Linked DNA regions of Homo sapiens: regions 2, 3, 4, 5, 6 and 7 are each linked to region 1. Evidence: promoter capture Hi-C in 16 types of primary human blood cells and fetal thymus (Javierre and others, 2016). All regions are on one chromosome and are shown on one strand. The core of a region is centred on a gene start or on the middle of the fragment in contact, and the rest is flanking DNA. Distances in the headings are between cores, read along the strand shown. Region 1 holds the start of PPP4R3B (protein phosphatase 4 regulatory subunit 3B). Region 2 overlaps ASB3 (ankyrin repeat and SOCS box containing 3). Region 3 overlaps ASB3 (ankyrin repeat and SOCS box containing 3). Region 4 holds the start of ERLEC1 (endoplasmic reticulum lectin 1). Region 5 overlaps GPR75-ASB3 (GPR75-ASB3 readthrough). Region 6 overlaps PSME4 (proteasome activator subunit 4). Region 7 overlaps PSME4 (proteasome activator subunit 4).

The links. The method cuts DNA at HindIII sites, captures the fragments that hold promoters and counts their contacts. A CHiCAGO score of 5 or more calls a contact.
Region 2: a fragment that was not itself captured here is called in contact with the fragment with the promoter of PPP4R3B in region 1 in 4 of 17 cell types (total B cells, total CD8 T cells, naive B cells and 1 more); the score reaches 7.9 in total B cells.
Region 3: a contact is called between a fragment that was not itself captured here and the fragment with the promoter of PPP4R3B in region 1, in 9 of 17 cell types (total B cells, naive CD4 T cells, activated CD4 T cells and 6 more). The highest score is 16.8, in total B cells.
Region 4: the fragment with the promoter of ERLEC1 here is called in contact with the fragment with the promoter of PPP4R3B in region 1 in 10 of 17 cell types (total B cells, monocytes, naive CD8 T cells and 7 more); the score reaches 13.9 in total B cells.
Region 5: a contact is called between a fragment that was not itself captured here and the fragment with the promoter of PPP4R3B in region 1, in 1 of 17 cell types (total B cells). The highest score is 6.3, in total B cells.
Region 6: a contact is called between a fragment that was not itself captured here and the fragment with the promoter of PPP4R3B in region 1, in 1 of 17 cell types (total CD8 T cells). The highest score is 6.0, in total CD8 T cells.
Region 7: a contact is called between a fragment that was not itself captured here and the fragment with the promoter of PPP4R3B in region 1, in 6 of 17 cell types (M1 macrophages, total B cells, naive B cells and 3 more). The highest score is 8.1, in M1 macrophages.

The regions. Positions count from the first base shown.
Region 1 is chr2:55,615,966-55,619,305 of GRCh38, reverse strand. It overlaps PPP4R3B (protein phosphatase 4 regulatory subunit 3B), which reads left to right and starts at 1,684. Exons shown (of 17, transcript NM_001122964.3): 1 at 1,684-2,162. The coding sequence starts at 2,021. PPP4R3B-DT (PPP4R3B divergent transcript) reads right to left here and starts at 1,376. Exons shown (of 3, transcript NR_186624.1): 1 at 924-1,376. RefSeq lists enhancers at 1,314-1,363, 1,384-1,783, 877-1,801, 1,802-2,728. The HindIII fragment of the contact is 10,945 bases long and covers 1-3,340 here.
Region 2 is chr2:53,748,834-53,752,173 of GRCh38, reverse strand. It overlaps ASB3 (ankyrin repeat and SOCS box containing 3), which reads left to right. Exons shown (of 10, transcript NM_016115.5): 3 at 1,233-1,391. It overlaps GPR75-ASB3 (GPR75-ASB3 readthrough), which reads left to right. Exons shown (of 10, transcript NM_001164165.2): 3 at 1,233-1,391. Among named protein-coding and RNA genes, the nearest start is that of CHAC2, 17 kb to the left of the region's middle. The HindIII fragment of the contact is 311 bases long and covers 1,458-1,768 here.
Region 3 is chr2:53,768,927-53,772,266 of GRCh38, reverse strand. The region is part of intron 1 of ASB3 (ankyrin repeat and SOCS box containing 3); the gene reads left to right. The region is part of intron 1 of GPR75-ASB3 (GPR75-ASB3 readthrough); the gene reads left to right. It overlaps CHAC2 (ChaC glutathione specific gamma-glutamylcyclotransferase 2), which reads right to left. Exons shown (of 3, transcript NM_001008708.4): 2 at 325-360. Among named protein-coding and RNA genes, the nearest start is that of CHAC2, 2.8 kb to the right of the region's middle. The HindIII fragment of the contact is 190 bases long and covers 1,555-1,744 here.
Region 4 is chr2:53,785,502-53,788,841 of GRCh38, reverse strand. ERLEC1 (endoplasmic reticulum lectin 1) reads right to left here and starts at 1,798. Exons shown (of 14, transcript NM_015701.5): 1 at 1,470-1,798. The coding sequence starts at 1,631. ASB3 (ankyrin repeat and SOCS box containing 3) reads left to right here and starts at 1,889. Exons shown (of 10, transcript NM_016115.5): 1 at 1,889-2,021. The region is part of intron 1 of GPR75-ASB3 (GPR75-ASB3 readthrough); the gene reads left to right. RefSeq lists enhancers at 1,806-2,225, 1,741-2,399. The HindIII fragment of the contact is 9,655 bases long and covers 1-3,340 here.
Region 5 is chr2:53,813,809-53,817,148 of GRCh38, reverse strand. All of the region lies in intron 1 of GPR75-ASB3 (GPR75-ASB3 readthrough), which reads left to right. It overlaps ERLEC1 (endoplasmic reticulum lectin 1), which reads right to left. Exons shown (of 14, transcript NM_015701.5): 12 at 2,529-2,606; 13 at 2,214-2,289. Among named protein-coding and RNA genes, the nearest start is that of ERLEC1, 28 kb to the right of the region's middle. The HindIII fragment of the contact is 2,730 bases long and covers 347-3,076 here.
Region 6 is chr2:53,875,193-53,878,532 of GRCh38, reverse strand. PSME4 (proteasome activator subunit 4) reads left to right here. Exons shown (of 47, transcript NM_014614.3): 42 at 2,778-2,906. Among named protein-coding and RNA genes, the nearest start is that of GPR75-ASB3, 17 kb to the right of the region's middle. The HindIII fragment of the contact is 553 bases long and covers 1,381-1,933 here.
Region 7 is chr2:53,911,008-53,914,347 of GRCh38, reverse strand. The region is part of intron 20 of PSME4 (proteasome activator subunit 4); the gene reads left to right. Among named protein-coding and RNA genes, the nearest start is that of GPR75-ASB3, 53 kb to the right of the region's middle. The HindIII fragment of the contact is 2,420 bases long and covers 540-2,959 here.

The DNA.
Region 1 (3,340 bases), core at 435-2,934:
GGAGTAACCAAAGGGTGAGGCTTGGACAGAAGGCTGGAGAGTCTAACATCAGGCTCAAAAATTGTGTGAAGCATTCTCTGACTCTTCCAAGACAGAAATGTTATTTTCTCTGAGGTCAAAATACATTTTGTCCACTTTCATCACATCAATTAATTGGCTCTATTGTTATGTATTATATTATGATGATTTTCTTCAAGTACATTTTCTGAGGTCTCTAGATTAAAAAAAAAAACTATGAATCCAGATTTTGAAATTATTTCTATCAGCATGTGTTCTGTACACTGACCCACGTTGTAGTGTACTGCTGAAGGGTGTCCACACTTAAGCGATCTGGTCAAAACATAAGCACGTTTTAACAAGACCATTGATTAGTTATGACTACAACTCCCAAGATGCACTGCAGGGTCAGTGTGCGCGTCTCGCCTAGTTTTCACCGATCAGGCTAATGAGCTGCACAGAAGTGGCAGCTGAACAAGCTGAGAGACTGTATTAAAGAACGAATATAGCGGGGATGGGGAGCAGGCGTCTACGGTCCCAGCTACTCGGGAGGCTGAGGTGAGAGGATCGCTTGAGCCCTCAAGGCGGAGGCTACAGTGAGTCGAGATAGCGCCATTGCACTCTAGCCTGGGAAGCAGAGAGAGACTATCAAAAACAACAAAACGAATAAAGGGATTCTACCAAGAGTGAGCTGGACTGAAATAAACGACACGCTACTACGACCCAGCGCGTGACTATATCCACCGCACAATGTGCGATAATAGCCTCAATGCAGAGAGAATTCCTCCTTTCCTTATTCAGTGCAAGAGAGCCCTATAGAGAACGCAGGAAATGCCCGCGAGAAACTGAGAAGTATCAAAACAATCACAGATATGTTAGGAAAGTAGCTCCCCGCCACTTCCCTAAACTTATCATAGCAGACTTACTTTCCAAGGTTACAAACACAAGAAGAGCACTGTATTTTCATGAAGCGGAAAATGTGCTTTACAATCGCCAGCTACTAAGAGCCTTAACGGTGAAGCGCTCTGCAAGAAACAGGAAATCGTCAACACACTTTCTGCATGAATTGCCTGGAGAGTTGTGTCCATAGACAATTCCTGGTTAGATGCTTAATTGTAGCAGACTCCATAACGGGGTTTAGCGGGTTTCCATTCGGCAGAAAGGGCTCCACGTTCTTTTTCACAGAAAGGTTTAAACTTATTTTTCCTCCTCAGGCGGACGAAGTGAGCGTCGTTCCGTGAAGGTATGAAACCCTTTTCCTTCCTTTCTGTCCCTGGTTACTCCGGTTCAAGGCTACGTACTTCCCCGGTTTGCTTTGTTTTTTCCTCAGAGCTAAGTTCCTAGGAACGTCACATACTGGTGCCATCCAACAACATGACGACGTGCGGAACCGAAGTCCCCTTCCACCTAGCGGCCTCTCGCGGCGCAGGCGTGGACGGGGAGATCGCGAGAACCTCCCGCCCAATTGCGACCCCGCGCCAAGAGGCGGGGCCGAAAGAGGAGGAAGTCGGGCCGAAAGAGGAGGAAGTCTCGCCGAAGTACTCCCGCCCCAGTCGGTACCCCTCCTCGCGAGAGCGCCGAGCATTCCGGCCTGGGAAGCGCGTGCAGAAGCGGAGGTGCTGCTCATGGGACTTGTCGGCCGCCGTAGCCCCTGCTAGGACAGCCCGTGCGAGCCTGCTGGAGGAGGAAGAGAAAGGCAGAGAGAGTCGGGTTACAAGATGGCGGATCTGTAGTAGTTACCGCGGCGGCGGGAGAGCAAGCGAGCCCTGGGGGGCAAAGAGACGGGAGAGTGGGTGTATGCGCGGGTGAAGTGAGAGGTAACGGGGCCTCCGGGCGGAGAGGCCTCAGTGGCTCTTGTCACCCCTTCTCGCGGCTGAACCTTTGGAGCCATGGTGAATTCGGGCCTCTCCGAAGCCGCCGCCGCCGCCACCGCCACTACTGCCTTTACCGTCTCCTAAGAGTGAGGAGCGCGGACGAGGTAAGCGAGGAGGCGGCGGCTAGAGCGGTGGAGACAGCAGCCACCATGTCGGATACGCGGCGGCGAGTGAAGGTCTATACCCTGAACGAAGACCGGCAATGGGACGACCGAGGCACCGGGCACGTCTCCTCCACTTACGTGGAGGAGCTCAAGGGGATGTCGCTGCTGGTTCGGGCAGAGTCCGACGGTAAGGTTATCGGAACTGTAGAATAGGGGATAGTGCCTCTGGTTGGGGCACAGCTTGGGTTTAGGGCCCTGGGCCCGTTACCGTTGCTACTCCTTCGGGACAGCGCGTTGGTTCTGAACTGGCTCTTGTGTACGGCAAAAACAAAGTACTGTACTTTTGACTGGACTTATCCTCGGAGACCGAGACTCTCTGTCCTTCTCCCATCTCTCTTAAGGATTGGACTCCTTCCTTTCCAGTCCCTCCTCTTTTGAAGAGGGGAGAGTGTGAGAGAGAAGGGAGGAAGTAGTGAGAGACTAGGTACTGATGTCGCCCTAGGAGCTGACACCTTCCTCCCCCTTTATTTACTTATCCATTATACGTCTAGTACAAACGGTTTAGGGAAACTTTTCTTTCCGAGTGTTTTTAAAAAAAAAAAATTGTACCAACGGGCCCCAGGTGCCACAGTCGACAGGTGCTGGGGAAAACCGAAAGGCACGTTTTCCTGGCTGTATTGCTGACTGTTGCCACGATACATGGACACACAAGCACATACATCTGTAGTCTGCATTTCTTCGGGCTGCCTTTGTAGAAGGCGCTATGAGAAAGTGAATGCCTTACAATCTAAGCAAGTTGGGACACCAAAGCAGGTTGTAAACTGCTGTGTTCTTTGGTTTATTGTAGTCATGTGAAGTATTTTAAATTACAAAATGTAGAGCCGTAATTAAAATGCCTTTTATAGTATAATCTGGACTTGATTTGAACAACTGATATAGGCAGTTAGAAAAATAATCTTAGGTTTAGTCTTGACATATTTTGTATTCTTGCTTGTTCCCTTTTATTTTAAATAGTCATCACTTCTACAGAAGGTGTTCTTTTGTTCTTAATGAGGAAAGGATAAATGCAGCACTGTAATTTCTATACTAAGTATTTAATCCCTGTCATGATGTTTTTGTTTTGTAATTTGCATTATTTGTTAAACTGGGAATGCAATAAAACAACTTTTGTTAAAACGAATGGCTTGAAGTGGTCATTTAGACCTTAAAATTTTTATTTCAATAAAATTTTAATAGTCATCTAGTCTCCTCATTCCTTGGTTTGATTGTTGGTTTTAGATTAATTTTTCCTTTAAGGGTGTATGGGAATAGGGTGAAATATTTTAGATTAAATGTGAAGCCTAGATTTGGAGAGAAAATGTGAAT
Region 2 (3,340 bases), core at 364-2,863, 1.9 Mb after region 1:
TAGAAGTGTATTAAGTTTATTAATTATTTTGGGAAGAATCAGCATCTTTATAATATTGAAATTTTCCATTTAGGAGCCAATCTACTGATGTCTATTATCTATATATGTCTTTGTGTTCCTAGGTTTTCATGTCATTTGTATTCACAAAACTGTCAGGTTAATACATGAAATAAGGGTCATGTCTGACTAATCTCCGACTAATCTCAATAAACTACTTTGAATAAGAGTCAACTTCTGACTAATCTCTGAAACCCTATTTCTGTGATATGTCCTTTTAAAATATGACTACTCTATCTTGCCCTTTAGTTGTGCATCTGTGAAGTTTGAGACTGTTTTCTTTGAATATATGTACTTAGAAGCTGTTACTGGGATATCATGGCTTAATCTACTTGTTTCATCAGTGAGTTACAATGACAAGAATTACTTAAAATAGATAACTAGTTAGGAGCATTTGTTTCAATTCTGACACTTCAAGAAAATGTTTAAGTTTTTTTTTTTATTTTCTGTTTAGTTTATTCCAGCTCTCAGAAATGTCTTCACCCTTCACTTTAGAGCCCATCTTTCTATAATGGGCATAGAATTTTATTGTGTAAATATCATTTGTATAATTTGAGTGTTACCAGAACCTTGACGTTTTCATGACAAATACATTTCGGAAACTTTAACTCATAAATTCCTTATTATATGTCACTGGTTGTGTTAGAGTGCATTTTATTCTTTTAGAACTGCAGTTTTCATTAACAATTAAACCATAGTCTTAAGTTAGAAAAGGAGTATTTAAAACTGCCTCATGGTATTAGTTGACTACAAGGAAGTAATGGTAAGAGATCAGACCATTTCCCTTATAGAAATTTAAAAATAAAAAAATAAAATTGATGAATATTTCGATAAATTCTGTTTAAGCAAATATTTAGTGCTGCATCCTCCTCAGACTATTGCTTTTGTTACCTTTCAATTTCTGCCACTCCTCTTCCCTTATTCACCAAAAATTAGAGAAGAGAAAATGGGAGCTAGTGGACAGGATTTGTGTATTAAGAATACCAAAGAGCTGTTCACAGTGGGATCTCTGTAGAACTTTTTCTTGATTTTCTATAGTTTTAAATGGTGAAACCTGTCATTTATACATTACTTACATTTTAATAGTTCATTAAATTCCTCTTGGAATCTTTGCTTTTTAAAACCAGGAAATAGAAGTAATACCTTCTAGTTGATGGGCTTTGATTCTTCCACAGATTCATCTGAAAACTACATTAAGATGAAGACCTTTGAAGGTTTCTGTGCTTTGCATCTCGCTGCAAGTCAAGGACATTGGAAAATCGTACAGATTCTTTTAGAAGCTGGGGCAGATCCTAATGCAACTACTTTAGAAGAAACGACACCATTGTTTTTAGGTAAGTATGCTATTTGTGGTGCAGATGCAATTTTTCATCATTATTATTTTTTTGTTAAACTAAGCTTAATTTTTCCTTCAGCTGTTGTGCTTATAGTATGTTCTTTTGGCAACTATCATACCACTACTTCCTTGATTTTTGAAACTGAAAAGATATTTTTAAAGGTTTTGCTCTTGTTTTCTATTCTTGGGTGGTAGCTTCTGGGACTTTGTTTATTTAAAGTTGCAAAATCTGTTTCGAATTGTAGGCACCATCATTGTTCTCACTGTAGTTCTGAAGACCAGGTATCACTTAAATTGTAGCAGTAGTTGCAAGGTTACCTGTGAATGCTTTATGTTTGCTTTTGCCTTTTCTTAACATTAAAAAATTAAGAAGCTTTTATGGAAGAAATCACCAGCTAATACTTTAATGCCAGTTAATGTGTTGCCTGTATGGATCTGTTTTTTAATTCAGACCTCTTCTGTTACAGACTGTTTTTTAATTCCTTAAGGACGACAGCCAAATTCTAAATGGCTTTCTTCCAATAACTGTCTTTTTTCTTCTTTTCCTCCTTTTTTCTATTCGATTCTATTTGTCTTCAGGGACATTGTGTCCCATAAAGTTTAGTGGAACATGAGAAAATTGAGTCAATGAAGCGTTTGGAATAGAATCAGTGCATCTGGACTATAGTTTTGGTCCTGCCACATGTAATTTGTATATTTATTTATTTACTATATGTTTCAGTATCCTCACTTATAAAATGAGAGTAATAGTACCTATCTAGTCTTTGTTATTGGTCTGAGAATGAAATGAGTTGTCTGTGAAAGTACTTTTTTTCCTTGTGGACTTAAAAATATTACTTAAATTTATGTACTTTAGTAAAATTCATTCTTTTTAATATAACAGTTCTGTGAGTTTTGATGTATTCATAAAATTCTGTAATGACAACAATCAAGATATAGAACCATTCCATCACTCCTCAAAATTCCATCATGCTGCCAATTTTTAATCAATATTTTCTTCCCTCTCCCCAGCTCCACCCCTGACAGTGACTGATCTGTTCATATATATGAATTAATATACACCATATAGCCTTTGAGACTGGCTTCCTTTAGCTGTCATGATACTTTTGAGATTCATCCATATTGTTGCATGTATCAATAATCCATTTCTTTTTGTTAGCTGAATCGTATTCTATTAAATAGATGTGATTAAATAGATGTGATACAGTTTATCCATTTATCAGTTGGATATTTGAGTTGTTTTCACTGTTTAGTGGTTACGACTAAATCTCCTATAAACATTTGCAGACAGGTTTTGTATCAATATAAGTTTTTATTTCTCTTGGGTTAATACTTAGGATTGGTATGACATATGGTAAATATATGTTTAACTTTGGGAAACAAGTTGGAAGTTTTTTTCTACTGGTTTGCATTTCGTTCAGTAATGTTTGAGACTTTTAGTTGCCCCATATCCTTGCCAACATTTGCTATTGCCAGCTTTTTCTTTTTCTCCCTTACATCTTAGTAATTCTAATGGAGGTTTAGTAGTATCTCACTGTGGTTTTTATTTGCATTTTCCTAATTGCCAATGATGTTGAGCATCTATTCATATGATTATTTTCCATCTTTCCTTTTTCCTCATTACTTTTGTATTTAGACGTTTTGTTTTGAAATAATTTCAGACTTATGGAAGTAGTCAATAACAGTACAAAGGGTTCCTTATATACTTTTCACCCAGATTTTCTTCTTTTGCCAGGTTTGTCATTTAATTTCCTTCTTTGTATTTTTTTTAATCCTTTTGAGATTAAGTGGTAGACATCACGCTCCTTTACTTCTACTTCAGTGTGAACTCCTAAAAGCAATAAAATTCTGACTACCATATGATGATCATAATCTTATCAGGAAGTTAACATGGATAGAATAGTATTATTTGGTCTACAGCCCTCATTCAATTTTTTCGTGAATGTC
Region 3 (3,340 bases), core at 400-2,899, 1.8 Mb after region 1:
GGAGGCGGAGCTTGCAGTGAGCCGAGATCGCGCCACTGCACTCCAGCCTGGGCGACAGAGCTAGACTCTGTCTCAAAAAACCCCACAAAAACGAAAACTACATGCTATTTGTCTGTACGTTGTTGTCTACCTTGCACTCTGCATTCTAACTTTTCTTATTGGCCTCAGTTTTCACAAACACAAAAAAAACCCACAAATACAGAGAAGAATTCTAAATTTAGGGTAGTTCAAATTGTCTGTGATGATTGTTAATCAAATTGAAACAGAAACATCGCAACATTTTATAAAATTAAAATTATACAAAAAAGAATATTTATACCATACCGCAGGATCTTCAACAAGAGTCACAACTCTTCCAGGCTGTTTTAAAAAGGTAAAAAAAAATTTTTCTGAATTAATAAAGTTCATTAAGTAGCTGAGCATTAGCAACATTTTTGACATGGAATATTTGAATTATATTTGCTCATAAGAAGCACTATTTCTTAAGCATAGTTATTTTTTATGATAAAGCTTAAGTGAATTAAGAGAACCTACCTTATCTAGAGACTGTGTTGGCCTTTCTAAAAGATTTCCATCAATTTATACGTATTAGGTATATTATATTCACTTTACATGGATATATTGGAAAACATACCAGTAACTAAAGGTCATCTAAAATGAAAGGCAAATGGAAGCAGTAATTATAAATATTCTGGTTTTTCCCTTAAGGAAAAAAGAATGTTATAGTTTTATTTATTTATTTATTTATTTTTTGAGACGGAGTTTTGCTCAACAAGCCCAGGCTGGAGTGCAGTGGTGCGATCTTGGCTCACTGCAACCTCCAACTCTCGGGCTCAAGCAATTCTCTCACCTCAGCCTCCTGAGTAGTTGGGATTACAGGTGCCCGCCAAGACACCCAGCTAATTTTTGTATTTTTAGTAGAGACGGGTTTACCATGTTGGCCAGGCTGGTATGGAACTCCTGACCTTAGGTAATCCACCCGTCTCGGCCTCCCAAAGTGCTGGGATTACAGGCGTGAGCCACCGCACCCGGCCTATAGTTTTATTAGGGGAAAAAAAATATGACATAAAGGGTGCTTTCCTATATATAGGGAAGTGACTTTCAAATTTAGTGGATCAAAATGACCTAGAGGGCTTGACAAAGACATTGTTAGGCCACACCTCCAGAGTTTTTGATTCTGTAGGTCTGGAGCTGTCTAAGAATTTGCATTTGTAACAACTTTCCTGCTGATTTCAGAAATTGTTCTGGGGCTCATACTTTAAGAACCACTGCTACCAGGGGATATTAAGAGGTTTTAAGTGAGAGAGAATGAGTGATTTACACTTCTGAGTTATGAAGTGTTCTTACCTTTCTGTATATGGTAATGGTGCTTCAAGGTAGGCATTTCTTTTACATTCATAAATGAACTTTACTTTGCCCTATTTAAAGGTCAGTATTAGAACTGGCCTATTCGTGTAGTTCTTATATGGGACAATCAGACCACTTGTGTTCTAGGCAATTTTATTTTCCCATTTTGGTTTTAACACAGGTCAGTTAACAATATTATGGAAAGCTTCACTTTTTACTATTCAACTTGAGGTTGAAATGATATATTATGAAGCCAAAACAAGTTTTATTTGTTCTCCCATTTCAAAGACTGATAAAACAGTCTTTGCTTATAAATGGAAAGCCTTAGAGAAAGTCCAGACTTGGAATGTTCCATAATTTAAGGCACAAAGGTGACACCTATCAGTGCCTGCAAGCTTTTTTTTTTTTTTTTTTTTTTTTTAAATAAACTTCGTCCACGGAGTACCAAAGGCTGTATGTGTACTGATACCTTAACATCATTCATGGGAATGCTGAGTCATAAGCCACAATTTTACCTACTTGTATGCCCAATGTCTGGCACATAGCGAGCCTAAATCATCCAGGCATTTGTGTCATCTTTGTTGCTATTTCCTTTTAGTCTTCATCTGTTCGTATAGATAATTTGTAATCATGGAACACATGGGATTTTGGATTATGATTTCTCATTTAATTTTCCTGTTAGTCTTCTCATACATTTTAATAGTTGCATAATATTGTGTCATTGATGAACTATAAACGTTCCTGTGTTCTTGGACATTTAGATTTCTGACTTGTTTTCTTTTTAAGATGATGCTACAATGAGGATATATATATATTGGTGAGGGTCAAGTAGATAATGCCATATTATTTTCAATTTCAAAGTGAATTAGAAGTTATTTATGCATAGCTACTGTGTGCTGTGGAGAAGATGAAATCTTGATTCTTGGTTCCAGTAGCTTATATTGTCATTCTAGAATGCAAACTAACATGTGAAATAAATAGAGCTAAGATATGGGCTAAGATGTATGGTATTAAGTGCAGTTAGAATTCTGAGTCTTAGGTGATCAGAAAGACACCTTTTTTTAGCTCTTTTTTTTTGAGACGGAATTTCACTCTTGTTGCTCAGGCTGGAGTGCAGTGGCGCAATCTCAGCTCACCGCAACGTCTGCCTCCCAAGCGATTCTCCTGCCTCAGCCTCCAGAGTAGCTGGGACTCTACTGGCGTGCGCCACCACGCCCAGCTAATTTTGTATTTTTAGTAGACAGGGGGTTTCTCCATGTTGGTCAGGCTGGTGTTGAACTCCCGACCTCAGGTGATCCACCCGCCTAGGCCTCCTAAAGTGCTGGGATTATAGGCGGGAACCACCACGCCTGGCCAGCCCCTTTCTCCTTTTAAAGAATCACGGACTGTTGTGTTGACTAGGCAATTTCTAATCATCAGTCTATTCTGACAGCATACATATCTCAATGTGTTTTGTAACACACTGTACATTTTCGTCAAGACTAGTAAAGTATGTTGTTATAGCCACATACATAAATATTTAATACTTGGTCATTATAATTGGAGCCTGGGCTAAAGGTTTTCTTTTCGGAATGGCAATTTTAAATATTCATATCAAAACTGACAACTCTCAAACTCCTGGCCTCAAGCAGTCCTCCTGGCTCAAACTTCCGAAGTGTTGGGATCAGAGGCGTGAGCTACCGGGCCCAGCCAAAACTGACAACTCAGAAGCCATTTAATTTAGCTTAGTTCTTTAATGTCTTGAATATTGTTCTAGAACATTCTTGGAGATACTTTGGCCATGACATTTCTGTTGATCTGTAAATGTGCATTTATCCTAAGCCATTGCCCCTTTTCAGGTCACTGTGTCCAACATCCCAATAGGCCAGTATAGTCTACTTAAAAGCCAAGTTCTTAACTGACCAACTCTAGTTGAGATAGAATGGTTTCTAATTCAGGTTCTTTTCGTGATTTTAATCCCATGTCTCTCTTATGAGCAGGTGCAAACTACTTT
Region 4 (3,340 bases), core at 549-3,048, 1.8 Mb after region 1:
GGTATTAAAGTATTCTCTTCCAAGCCTGCTAAAGTTATATCTGATTCATAACAAAATTTTACATAGGTATTTCAATGTATCAATATTTTGTGGCATTAATACAAAGAGAAATTTGACGTCCCAGAAAAATATTTACCTAGATAAATTCAGAACATTTGGTTCACACATGTAATCCCAGTATTCTGGGAGGCTCAGGCACGAGGATTGCTTGAGCCCAGGAGTTCGAGACCAGCCTAGGCAACATAGTGAGACCCTGCCTCTAGAAAAAAAAAAAAAAATTAGCCAGGAGTGGTGGGATTTCCCTATAGTCCCAGCTACTGGGAAGCTGAGGAGATCTCTTGAGCCCAGGAGGTCGAGGCTGCAGCCAGTGGTGACCGTACCACTGCACTTCAGAATGGGCAACAGACTGAGACCCTGTCTCAAAAAACAAACAAAAACAGAAAAACCCAAACCAAACCAAACCAAACCAAAAAACCCCTAACACTTGCAAATAGAAAGCTATGTGGTAATAACATCCATTAACTTGACACATCTTGTTTTGACATCATAGTGTCACTTACTGTTTCAATGAAATGGTAATGAAAGAATATAATAAAGTATTGCAAGTTGAATGCTTGAAGGTAATTGGAATAAAAAGTTTAAAAAAATTTTGCTTTTTCCGGGACTTCAATTTGAAGTAAATGAGTTAATTACTACATGGTAAGTGTCATAAGAGTACAATATTTATTAGCCTGCAGTAGGTACACGTGGACAGGAAGACTTTTCAGCGGTCCACTCCCCCAAGAGGGAATTTTCATTTCCGCGAGGTTACAAATGTTCTTCACTACAGGAAAACTCAACATAGAAGCTCATGTTCTGGGGACTCAAATAACAGTCGTAATACATGAAAACTGTAAAGGATATTCTGCATAAAGGGTCGTTAACATCTCACAGGCCAAATAGCCCTCTCAGAAACAACTAGGAAAGGAAAAAGTTCCCTTGGAGCTGTGCGTTTGCGTATGTCCGTGTGTGTATACAACTGAGGGAGAACGAATACGAGAGAGGGAACTCGAGTCTGAAGTACTGTGGTGTGGGCAGGGTGACATGTAATACTGAAGGAAAGAAGTCTGCTGGTGAAGTAAGAGCCACAGTTAATTTTCCGAAAGGAAGATGAGTAAGTGCACCTGACGTTATTCTACGAAAGCTGCTTCTGCAGGGTGGGAATGTTGGGAAGCAAGGTCTAGTGCGACAGAATTGAAAAGGTGGAGAGCAGGTGATTGCTGGATCCCTAATGCTCAGCAAGGGGGACGCATCCACATAACGTGAGAACGAACGAATGAATGAACGCTGCATAAAAGCAGCTTTGGCTTGGGGAAGGTAAGAGTCTGCAGAGAAGGTCTTGGGGAGAAAAAGCAAAGAAAACCGAGGGAAGAGGCCGAACCCTTAGTGTCAGGAGGAGGGGTGGCTGCGGGGTTAGTGAGGGCACTGACCAGAGAGAACTCGGTGCCGGGCCAGTTGACTCGGAAAGGGATGTCATCGCTGAGTTGAGGAAGGGCTCGGCCGCCGCCGGACGCCTCCAGGAGGCCGCAGAGGACCAGTAACACCGGCCCGCCCGGGACCAGACTCCGTACGCCGCCGCCTCCTTCCTCCATCCTCCGCCGCCGCTTTCTCCAGCCACCGCCACAACCTCCTCTGCTCCAGGAGGAGAGGAGGAGGAGGAGGAGGTGGAGGAGGAGGCGGCGGGACTATAAAGCGCCCGGGTATCACCGGCCCAACCGCCGCCACGTCTCCTTCCGGAGAGCCCGGCAACGCCGCCTCCGCCCCCTTGAGCCTCCTGTCACCGTTTCCGGGGCAGACGACATATCAACATCCGGGGGTCGCGGAGCCGTCCGCCTACGGGGGCCGGGACGTCGCCTGCGCGTCTCTCGTTTTCGGACGGCTGCAGCATCGCGGTGGGGATCGAAAGCGGGGGCTTCTGGGACGCAGCTCTGGAGACGCGGCCTCGGACCAGCCATTTCGGTGTAGAAGTGGCAGCACGGCAGGTCGGTGAGTCTCGGAGGCGGCAGCCGCTTCCTGAAGCCATTCCCGCTGCTCTCCAGTGGGCAGGCAGAGGTTTGACCCACACGGAGTGATAGCGGGAAGAAGACAGTGTGAACCGTGCGGGTGCGGGTCCTTAGATGAGAAAATTCGAAGTAGCGATGAGATGTGAGAAATGGCGGTGTTCCTGACTGACCTGCCTTCTTGCAGCTTTTCTTCTTTTTCTCCGCATTTGGCATTTGTACACTTCATTTTTCCCGCTTGAGGCTTATCTCCATCTCTTCTGCTGTGGACCGTGGCCATCTCGTTACTTAACAGCTTCTGACTAACGCAGGGCAGTTTGTTCAGCGACTGCAACTCTGTGTTAGGGGAAACCTGGGGTGAGGTAGCCCGCCATCTCCCCGTAGGTGAATACCGCAAGCCTCCGAATTTGGCGTGGTGGGCGACTCTCGTGGAATGGGCAGCTAGACATCACAACCCTACATTTTTACCCTCCATCTCTAGATTGAAGTGTTGGGGTGTTGTTTTATCAAGGAAGCTGGTAAGGTTCCTTATGTGAGGTTTAGCGCCAGATGAATGTGTGTGTTTATGAACTAAGTCACGTCTGACTGCATCCCCAAATTAGACAAAAAGTTTTGTTTTTCCCTCCCCCTCTTTAGAAAAAATGCCATTGTCTGTTTTGATCTCCAATATAATGGACATAGAGTGTTGGCTTTAGAGAAATTACCATTCCCTAAAGCTCGACAGTCTTGCTAGATCTGTTAAAGACTGGTCGCCCCCACTTCCTCAGATTTGAACCAAATCAAAAAGCAGGAAGGACAGTCCCATATTCTATCTTAAAAATTTTTTTTTAACATCAGGAATCCATAGTATCAAAGAAGATAACTTTCTTCAGAATTGTTATTCGCTAATTATATTCAGCACTTCTTATTAATGCTTAATGTGATCCAGACTCCTGGGATTTTTGTTGTTGTTGTTTGTTTTGAGACAAAGTCTCGCTCTGTCACCCAGGCTGGAGTGCAGAGGCATAATCTTGGCTCACTGCAACCTCCGCCTCTGGAGTTCAAGGGATTCTCCTTTTTCTCAGCCTTCCGAGTAGTTGGGATTACAGGCGCGCGCCGCTACACCCTAATTTTTGTATTTTTAGTAGAGGCAGGGTTTCACCACGTTGGCCAGGCTGGTCTCGAACTCCTGACCTCGGGTGATCCGCCCTCCTCGGCCTTCCAAAGTGCTGGGATTACAGGCCTGAGCCACTGTGCCTGGCCCCCCTGGGCTTGGTAAAATGCCAAATAAATGGGTTTCTGTCTTTGGTCACACAGTCTAG
Region 5 (3,340 bases), core at 462-2,961, 1.8 Mb after region 1:
AAAAAAAAAATAAGTAAATAAAAAACAACAACAACAAAAAGAACCAAGTGGAAATGTTAAGAGATAAAAAATACATCAGTGATAAATTCATTCAATGGACTGGGCACAGCAGAGAAATTAACAAGTTTGAAGACAGCTTAACAGAAATGACCCAAATCGAAACAAAGGAAAAAAAGTGGGAATAAAGCAGTGTCTGAGATTCTGGAACAATTTTATACTAACATGTCTTATTGGAGTATCAGAAATAGAGGAGAAAAAGAATGGAGCAGAATAAATCTTTGAGGAGATAATGTCCAAAAATTTCCCCAAATTGATAAAATATATCAACCCACAAATCCAAGAAGCTTAGTGAACTCCAAGCAAGATAAATACAGAGAAAACCACATTTAGGCATTAGATAATCAAAGGTAGAACCATAAAGTCTTTAGAAGGAAATATAGGAGAATATTTTCATGATTTTGGGGTAGAAAAATTTCTTAGAACACAAAAAGCGTTAGCTATTAAAGAGGAATAAATGATAAATTGAATTTCATGAAATAAAAATTTTTCATTCACCAAAAGACATTAATAAGAAAATGGGGCTGGGTGCGGGTGGCTCACACCTATAATCCCAGCAATTTGGGAGGCCGAGGCGGGCAGATTACTTGAGGTCAGGAGTTCGAGACTAGGCTAGCCAACAAGGTGAAACACTGTCTCTACTAAAAATACAAAAATTAGCCGGACGTGGTACCATATATGCCTGTAATACCAGCTACTCGGGAGGCTGAGGCAGGACAATCGCTTGAACCCAGGAGGCGGAGGTTGCAGTGAGCCGAGATCATGCCACTGCACTCCAGCCTGGGTGACAGAGTGAGACTCCATTTCAAAAAAAAAAAAAAAAAAACCAACCAAAACCCAAAAATCAGCCAGGCACGGTGGTGCATGCTTGTAGTCCCAGCTACTTGGAAGGCTGAGGCACAAGAATTGCTTAAACTTGGGAGGCAGAGGCTGCAGTGAGCCAAGATTGCGCCACTGCATTCCAGCCTGTGTAGTGGCCGATGCCTATAATCCCTGCACTTTGGGAGGCAAAGGTGGGAGGATTGCTTGAGTCCAGGAGTTTGAGACCAGCATGGCCAATATGGTGAGACCCTATCTCTATTAAAAAAAAGAAAGAAAGAAAAATGAATAGGCAAGCCACAGACAGAGAAAAAAATATGTGCAATACAAATACAAAGAGTTAATGTCCAGACCTCTGTTAAGATGTGTTGAGAAGTGAGGACCTGAAATGTTCTCAACACATAGAAACAATAAATGCTTATGGTGATGAATATTCTGAATACCCTGACTGGATCACTACATATTCTATGGATGTAACAAAGTATCATATGTAACCTGTAAACATATACAAATACTATGTATCAATAGAAAAAAAATCAACTAAACAAAACACCACCAAAAAAAAGTGTTACACTGAGTCAGAGTTCAGGTACAGAAATATTATACACTATATGATTCCATTCATGTGGAATCCAAAAAAGAGACAAAACTAATCTACAATGTCATAAATCAGAAATGGGTATCTTTGAGCAAGGCTAAGGGGTATTTACTGGAAGGGAGTATGATAGAACTTTCTGCAGTGACATATCTTGTTTTGGGTGATAGTTACATGGGTGTATATAACTGTCAAAACTTATCAAGCTCAACACTTAAGATCTGTGGATTTTATTTCATGTAAATTATATCTCAATAAAAAATGTCAAGAAAAACCATGTCAACTATTACATGAGTGGTATGTGGGCCATATTAAGCCTTGGAGACTACTGAAGGTCCTTCCTAAACTTAATGCAAAAAATTAAAACATGGCAGCCGGGCGTGGTGGCTCACACCTGTAATCCCAGCACTTTGGGAGGCTGAGGTGGGTGGATCACCTGAGGTCAGGAGTTTGAGACCAGCCTGGCCAACATGGTGGAACCCCGTCTCTACTAAAAATACAAAAATTAGCTGGGTGTGGTGGTGTGCGCCTGTAATCCCAGTTACTCGGGAGGCTGAGGCAGAAGAATTGCTTGAACCTGGGAGGCAGAGGTTGCAGTGAGCCAAGATTATGCCACGGCACTCTGCCTGAGCCACAGAGCAAGACTCCGTCTCAAAAAAACAAAAAAAAAAAAAAAAAAAAAGAAAAAAAAATTAAAACATGGCTCAAAATGGAATTTTTGATTATTTTCTTTTTAACTTACCCCAAGAATATATTGACAGGAGTGAGGCTCTAGCATATATACAGTAACAGCATGAGGTGAATCTGATTCTTTGCACCTAAAACAGAGAGCACTTTAAGGTACTGTCCAAATCATTTAAAGTAAGATCACTGTTAATAACTGTACTCTTAAAAATCCCACTCAAGTGGACCCTGTATGATTTAATATAATTTTATCAATAATTTAAATGGTATACTTTCATAATTATTCATAATTATACTGTTTACATAAAACTTTTGTCCATAGGAAGCAGTTAAAAGACAAAGGCATACAGCATGATTTGATGGTCTAACTTACTTTAGTTTTACAGTCACCTGTCTTGGTTTGTCAGTTATATCACAAATATCTCCATTTCCATAAAAATGTGACACCATCCTGAATCAGAGAAACACACAAGTTTTATTAAACTAAAATCTCACTAATAGAATAATTGTAATGGGTAGGGTGAGAAGATGGTTAGAGGGATCAGTTTTGCATTAGTTAAAAAAAAACCTGACTATAAAATATTCTTTAAAAAAATATTTTTAGGGTTATCTCACAGAGGCATTCTCTTGGATTCTATAAAGAGAATATAAGAGATACTTCATACTGGCTTAGTTAATAATTATTTTCAACTTGCATATTATTTATTTGTATACAAATAATTTTGGTTAGATTCCTTTAAAAAAATTGTTTTAAAGTTATCAATTTCCCTAGCCCACTATATTGTTTTGTAAAACAGTTCTTTGCTTCCGTCCTCCATCAAGCTACTCCCATTAAAATACTGTTCGTTAGGCACTGTAGTATAGAAGACAAAGCCTAGGCCAAACTGTCAATCTCAAATGAGCAGGATCCAAAGAAAAGCTTCATTTTACCAGTCTAACACTCATTCTTCAACATATATTGTACATGATACCACAAACTGTTTTCACATAAAACATATACCTACAAGGATAAGAAAAATCAATTTGTTTAGTACAATAATTAAATGTCTGTGGGAGGGGGGAAGATAGCTTTAGGAGATATACCTAATGCTAAATGATGAGTTAATGGGTGCAGCACACCAGCATGGCACATGTATACATATGTAACTAACCTGCACATTGTGCACATGTACCCTAAAACTTAAA
Region 6 (3,340 bases), core at 408-2,907, 1.7 Mb after region 1:
GAAAGAAGAGAAATATGGCTCTGTTCCACCAGGCTCACAGGCAGCCAGAGTTTAAGGTCATCTCCTTTGTTGTCTGAACATTGCTGTTATCCTGTTCTTTTTTCAAGGTGCCCAGATTTCATATTGTTTAAACAATTTGTGCAATTAACACAATTATCACAGGGTCCTGAGGCGACATTCATCCTCAGCTTATGAAGATGATGGGATTAAGAGATTAAAGTAAAGACAGGCATAGGAAATCACAAGAGTATTGATTGGGGAAGTGATAAGTGTGCATGAAGTCTTCACAATTTATGTTCAGAGATTGCAGTAAAGACAGGCATAATAAATTATAAAAGTATTAATTTGGGGAACTAATAAATGTCCATGAAATCTTCACAATTTATGTTCTTCTGCCATGGCTTCAGCCGGTCCCTCCGTTTGGGGTCCCTGACTTCCTGCAACAGCCAGTAGAAAGTAAATGAATATGTGCTTTTGCTAGACACTCCTACACACCCCTCTTTATTGGTTATTTCCTCAGAGACTCACTTTTACAGTATGATATTAAACATCCCGATTTTTCCCAGTAGAACAGGTGGAAACATATAACTCAGTATGGTTTTAATTTGCAAAAAGAAATAATTTTTATTCTAAAATACCAAGGATTATATTAACTGAGGTAAAATATTTAAAGCTCAGCATTATGAAATGTCTTTGCATACCCATAACAAAAAAAGAACTGAATCATGCCTTTGTTATGACAAAGGCTCTCCTTGACCAAACTTAAGTCAGCTCCTCTGAGCCATCTTTCTGACTAGATCTCAACCTTGGGCTCTGTCTTTGGCCTGTCTGTCTTTGGTCCAGTTTTAGCAAGACTGTCTCTAATCTAGTTTAGAAAGAATCCCCCACCCTTGGTATCTGATCACCCTATTCTACCTTTTGCAGGAATCCCGTTAAGTAGGTTTAGGAGGAAACCTCCTACCCCTGATGTCGCTGAATAAACTTTTCCTTAATAATTTATCAAATGTCAGAATAATTTTTTTTAACAACAGTTTCAAGCTGAGTGTATTAATTCACTATGATAGTTTGTCCAGTATTTGATAGAAATAATTTCCCTTAGCAAACTTTATTTTTTTTTTAAGAGACAGGGTATCACTCTGTCACCCTGGCTAGAGTGCAGTGCTGTGATCATAGCTCACTGTAACCTTGAACTCCTGGGCTCAAGCAATCTTCCCACCTCAGCCTCCCAAGGACTATAGGCATGTGGCACCAAGCCCAGCTAATTTTTTTTTTTTTTTTTTTTTTTGTAGAGGCAGGATCTTGCTCTGTTATCCATGCCAGCCTCATGAGAATCCCTCCAACTTAGCACCCCGGAGTCCCTTAGCAAACTTTATTAAAGCTTTCCCCTACTGAATGTGCAAGGGTATATTTTTTAAATATTTAAAACGTATTTAAGGCATCAGACAGCATACATTCATAGTCAAAGTATGGTACCAGACAAACCTGATTTCTTCATTAAAACAAATACGGATACTGGGTACACTGGCCCATGCCTGTAATCTCAGCACTTTGGGAGGCCAGCGCAGGAAGATTGCTCAAGCCCAGGAGTTTGAGACCAATCTGGGCAACACAGTGAGATTCTGTCTCTACCATACATTTAAAAAAAAAAATAGCTGGACACGGTGGTGCGTGCCTGTGGTCCCAGCTACTCAGAAGGCTGAGGTGGGAGGATCACCGACCCCAGAAAGTTGAGGCTACAGTGAGCCATGGTTGTGCCACTACACTCCAGCCTGGGCTACAGCGCAAGACCCTGTCTCAAAAAAAAAAAAAAAAAAAAGAATGACAGTGGCTACAGCCATCAGATTTGTTGGAATTCATAATGATAGTCTTTTAAAAATTCTTATCTACTTTTGGAGGACAGAAGGGAAATCATTATTCCAAATGAGGGAAAGCTTATATATATATATATAAGTATTCTAGCTAATAATGAAGAAGGAATGACCATTTCGCAAATCTCTCTTTTTATAATGGATTATCACAGAAAGACAAAGCTAAATATCAATGAAAGAAATACACAGCACCACTTATGTTGTGCCCAAAAAAGTGAAACTTCAATAAAGTCAGACCTTTACATCTAATAGCCAATTTATAAGACTTACTGGGGCCAAGGAATACCACTGCAGGGATGCAATCAGCAAAGGCCACAGTGGGGAAACTATAAAACAACAGACACAGCTTTTTTTCCCTGAGGAAAAAAAATACAGAGCAAGGGATTTTAAGATAGTTGCGGGGGGGAATATATGCATTGAAAGAGATTTATGAAACATACCAAGTAAGTACAATATGTGGTCATTACCTTAAACCTGATTTCAAAAAACCAGTTGTAATAACACATGAATGTGGTACTTGGGGAAATCTGAGTACCGCCACATATTTTATATTATAACTGTAACGAAGTTTTATGTGTGATGATGTCCATTACATGATTCTTTTTTAAGGGACCTTTTAGAAATAACATAATAAAATATTTAGGATGAAACAGTCAGGGATTTGCTTCAAATAATTTCATTGGGGAATGAGAGTCAGAGGGGAGGAAAAATGAAACAAAAGATTATGAGTTTGTCATTATTGAAGAGGTGATTGGCTCATGGGGGTTCATTATGCTATTCTCTAGTTTATGTGTTTGAAATTTTCCATAAAAATTGTTAAATTAAAGATGTGTTGTCTCTCATGTAGGATGCCTTTGTACTTATTGGCAATTATTTTTCCATTTTTGTCCTTTTTACATTGTTTTTTAGATTGCCCCAGTGGAAAATGACAATAGCTACGATGAACTGAAAAGAGATGCAAAGTTATGTTTATCATTAATGTCTCAGGGGTTGCTTTACCCTCATCAAGTGCCTTTGGTACTTCAGGTGCTAAAACAAGTAAGAGTGTTTATAATATTTATGTCTTTTGATTAGGATTTTGGTTTACCATTCTAAGAATTTCAGTCAGCTGCAGTGCACACAGCGCCTAGTTTTTGTTTTGAATTTTCTTTTAGTATAAGAGAAGACATATATATTGACCAAAGAAACAGACCTAGATTCTGTGCCTGGCTCTGCCCCTGCCTTCTGTGACTTTGGGCAAGTCAGTCAAGCCAAAAATATGCAGATAGCTAATTCATTATTAAGTGCTTTGGATAAAAAGTGCTTATGAGGAAGGTGGATGGTGGTTCCTTTCTACCACCAGTTCCCCTTTGTTTTGCTCACTTCTGTTACCTGGTCTTTTCTAGAGAGACCTATACTGACTGTACATTTTCTGCCTGCATTGTTGGTATACTGTATGGTCAGCTTTATCCAGACATTACACATGTTATATA
Region 7 (3,340 bases), core at 500-2,999, 1.7 Mb after region 1:
ATAGATGTGGAAGTTGGATTATGTCTTTCCAGAGTCACAGGAATTTTGGACCCTTGCCTTTAATCCTGAAATCATCATTAATTTTTCCTTTTGCAGTCCATTCTCTAAATAATCTTTTAGGTCTAACCAGCTATCACAGGATGCAAAAAACTAACATCTAAAAAACAGGGTTACTCAAGGTAGAGGAGTCATTTTTCATCTCAAAATATTCCTTTATTTTGTGTCCCCTTTCCTCTGATAGATTTATTACGTCATTTTTAGTTAAATCATCCTTAGGATCTCAGCTTTTACTAACTTTTCGCTCAAAGAAATTCATACTTAAGGTCTAATAGTGAGACCATTTCATTGATATGTGAAAGGATGTGTTGCTTATGCAATGAGGGGCAGGGCTAGCTAACCTCTCTTGGCACCTCCAGGAAACTACCCAGCTCTGCTGGGGGAGCTGCACACAGAAAAGGAAACAGTTACTACTCCACGGTGAGTAACCCTGTTTTCTCCTTATTTCACCTTCTGACTGTTTTCATTTATTTTTAAAAGCTTATGTGTCAGACTTGGAAGTAGTTCCTGTTTTCAGAGTTAATTTAAAATCTAGCAACATATAAGATTTCTCTTTATTTAGTGACCCTTTGTTCACTGGCAGGATAAGAGCCAGGTTTTCATTTGTGTTTATAGTTATTATTGCTACCTAGGATTGAATTGGATAATAGAACACAAAAATAGGCCTAACTGTCTCTTGTGAGACATTTGTACTTTGAAGGGAAAAAATCTATTAGTGGCTTGGTTTTACATCTTTTATGTTTATTTTTATTTGGAAGGGGAAGGGTTATTGGGAAGATAGGATGTTCTTTCACTTATACACAGGAAGAATTTTATATTATTGTTTACAGCTGTTTCATGACAATTCGCCCAGCCTTCATTTACATATGTGATTTGTATTATATATTTTGTTTTTGTGTTATTAGTTATTTCTTTTTCAGCATCCCTTCTTTCCTACCAGTGATTCTTTTCATAGTCCTGCTCTAATCATATCTAAAGAAGATTCCCATCTAGTGGTACGAATACTATAGTTGTTGAAAATTCATAGGTCCTTTTTTAGTGGTACAAATATTTTAATACATTTTACTATATGTTAGGTGGCCTGGTACTATCTAGAAGCTATGAAGCAGATTTAATTTTATTATTATTACATAGAGGGTGTTATTTACAGTATGTTGTGCTGGAATTATTTTTTTGAATTGTATTGTTCCTTAGGTTAAATGATACTATGGTTTGTAAAATGAACTAGTGAATGAGTAGGATGGATTTCACATGAGGAAGGGAGAGGTAGTGATGGAATTTGATTTGACTTACATATTGTTAACATAGCTTTTAGTCAGAATATAGATCTGTAAGACAGTGCCTTAAGACTATTCACTTAAGATTATGTGCATAGCTAAAAGCTACCAGAACAGTTTAATATATCACAGATTACATCCTGGGCACAATGAGATCTATAATGTCACAAAGAGATACAGTCATGATATTTTACTTGGGTAATGGGTAGAGATTTCTTTTAGTAAAAAATCTTCTAAAGGTCAGAAGAGGTAGGATACTATGGCTCATGCCTGTAATCCCAGTGCTTTGGGAGGTGGAGGTAGGAGGATTGCTTGGGGCCAGGGATTTGAGACCAGCTTGGGCACCATAGCGAGACCCTGTCTCTACCAAAAAGTAAATAAACAAAATTAGCTGGCGAGGTGGTGTGCACCTGTAGTACCAGCTACTCAAGAGCCTGAGGTGTATGTGAGTCCACTTGAGCCAGGAAGGTTGGGGCTGCAGTGAGCCATGATCGTACCATTGCACTGCAGCCTGGGTGGCAGAGGGAGATCCTATCTTGAAAAATAAATAAATAAATAGCTACACTTGCTGAGAAGCATTTATTGTAAATCATGTTAATCCAGTTAATTTGTGGTAGGCAAGAAGAGATCAAATTATGGTGGATAAGAATAAACAAAAGCTGTAATGTATACTACCCAGATATGTCCTATATATAGTCTTCCCTTGGTGAAGTTAGGGGATTGGACCTACAGCATACCAAAATACATTCATACTCAAGTGCCACAGTAGGCCCTGTAGAGCTCACATACAGGAAAAGTCAGCCCTCCATATGTGTAGATTTCTCATCTGGCTAATACATTTAGTTGAAAAAAAAATCTGCGTGTAAGTAGACCCACACCTGTGTTGTTCAAGGGTCACCTCTGTGTAGGAGATATGGAAGCTGTATTTTAATCCAAGTTTTAAAAGTCGAGGAAGAAGATAAGGCTTTTATTTAAATACATTACTTAATATTTTACAATCTTATACAGGATTTTTTAAAGTAGTCAGCATAAATGATTATTTTTCAAATTCCCTGATAAGAAAACAATTCAAAGTGTCACATGGATTTTAAGAAATTTGGTGTCAGGACTCTTAGATGAAACTTGTTTGAAAAACTTTAAATTCCCAAATGACAGGCTTTTTAGATATAGTAAAAACTATGGAGAATAATTGGTTATAAAGAATGCTTTTTTTAATTTGTATAATATGACAGTAACTAAAGTGACAGTAATTAAAATTCATGCTTGATTTAATATTATATGGCATTAGATACAGACTGCATAAGCTGCAGACTGTATATTTCTACTTCAGAAAACTAAGTGTTTATGGCAGCAGTGGGGAGACACATACTCTAATAGGATGGCTCATAGCAAGCACTTCCCCTGCTCTAACAGTGGGCGGGGGGAGGGTGGGAACTCTCTTGTGCTTTATTCTTGTTACTCTTGAGTACAGGCCTTTTCTCTTTGGTGAAATCTAATTTCAGTAAAGACATAACGTTCATGTAAAGGAATCTGATTTTATTTTTTACTAACAGATTTTGGATACATACATATTTTTGATCATGCAAAAATATTTAAGATGCTCAGGTTTGCCAGTGGTTGAAGCTTTATAGAAGGAAAACAAAATTTTAAGAGGAATTTGGTCTTGAAAGTCTGAAAAAGCAAATTAACGTTTGATACTATTAATATACAATATTAATAAGCTTTGAAGTAAGTTAGTGAAAAAGAAGCCATTCTTTGTTTATACTCTATGGGCTTGGTTTTGAAACTTGAGAAGGTATTGTTGCTATCCTCTGTACTGGGTTATGGTGAGAAACATAGTTAAATAACTGACATTTTAGAAATATGTTTTTACCTATTACTTAGATAAATACCTGAATTCATAACTGTCAAATATTAAGGTAGAGATAACCCATTTAATTCAGCTACTTTTTGAGGGTATACAATATAGCTGGGGATGTGTTGATTTAAAAATAGTATTTTCTTCA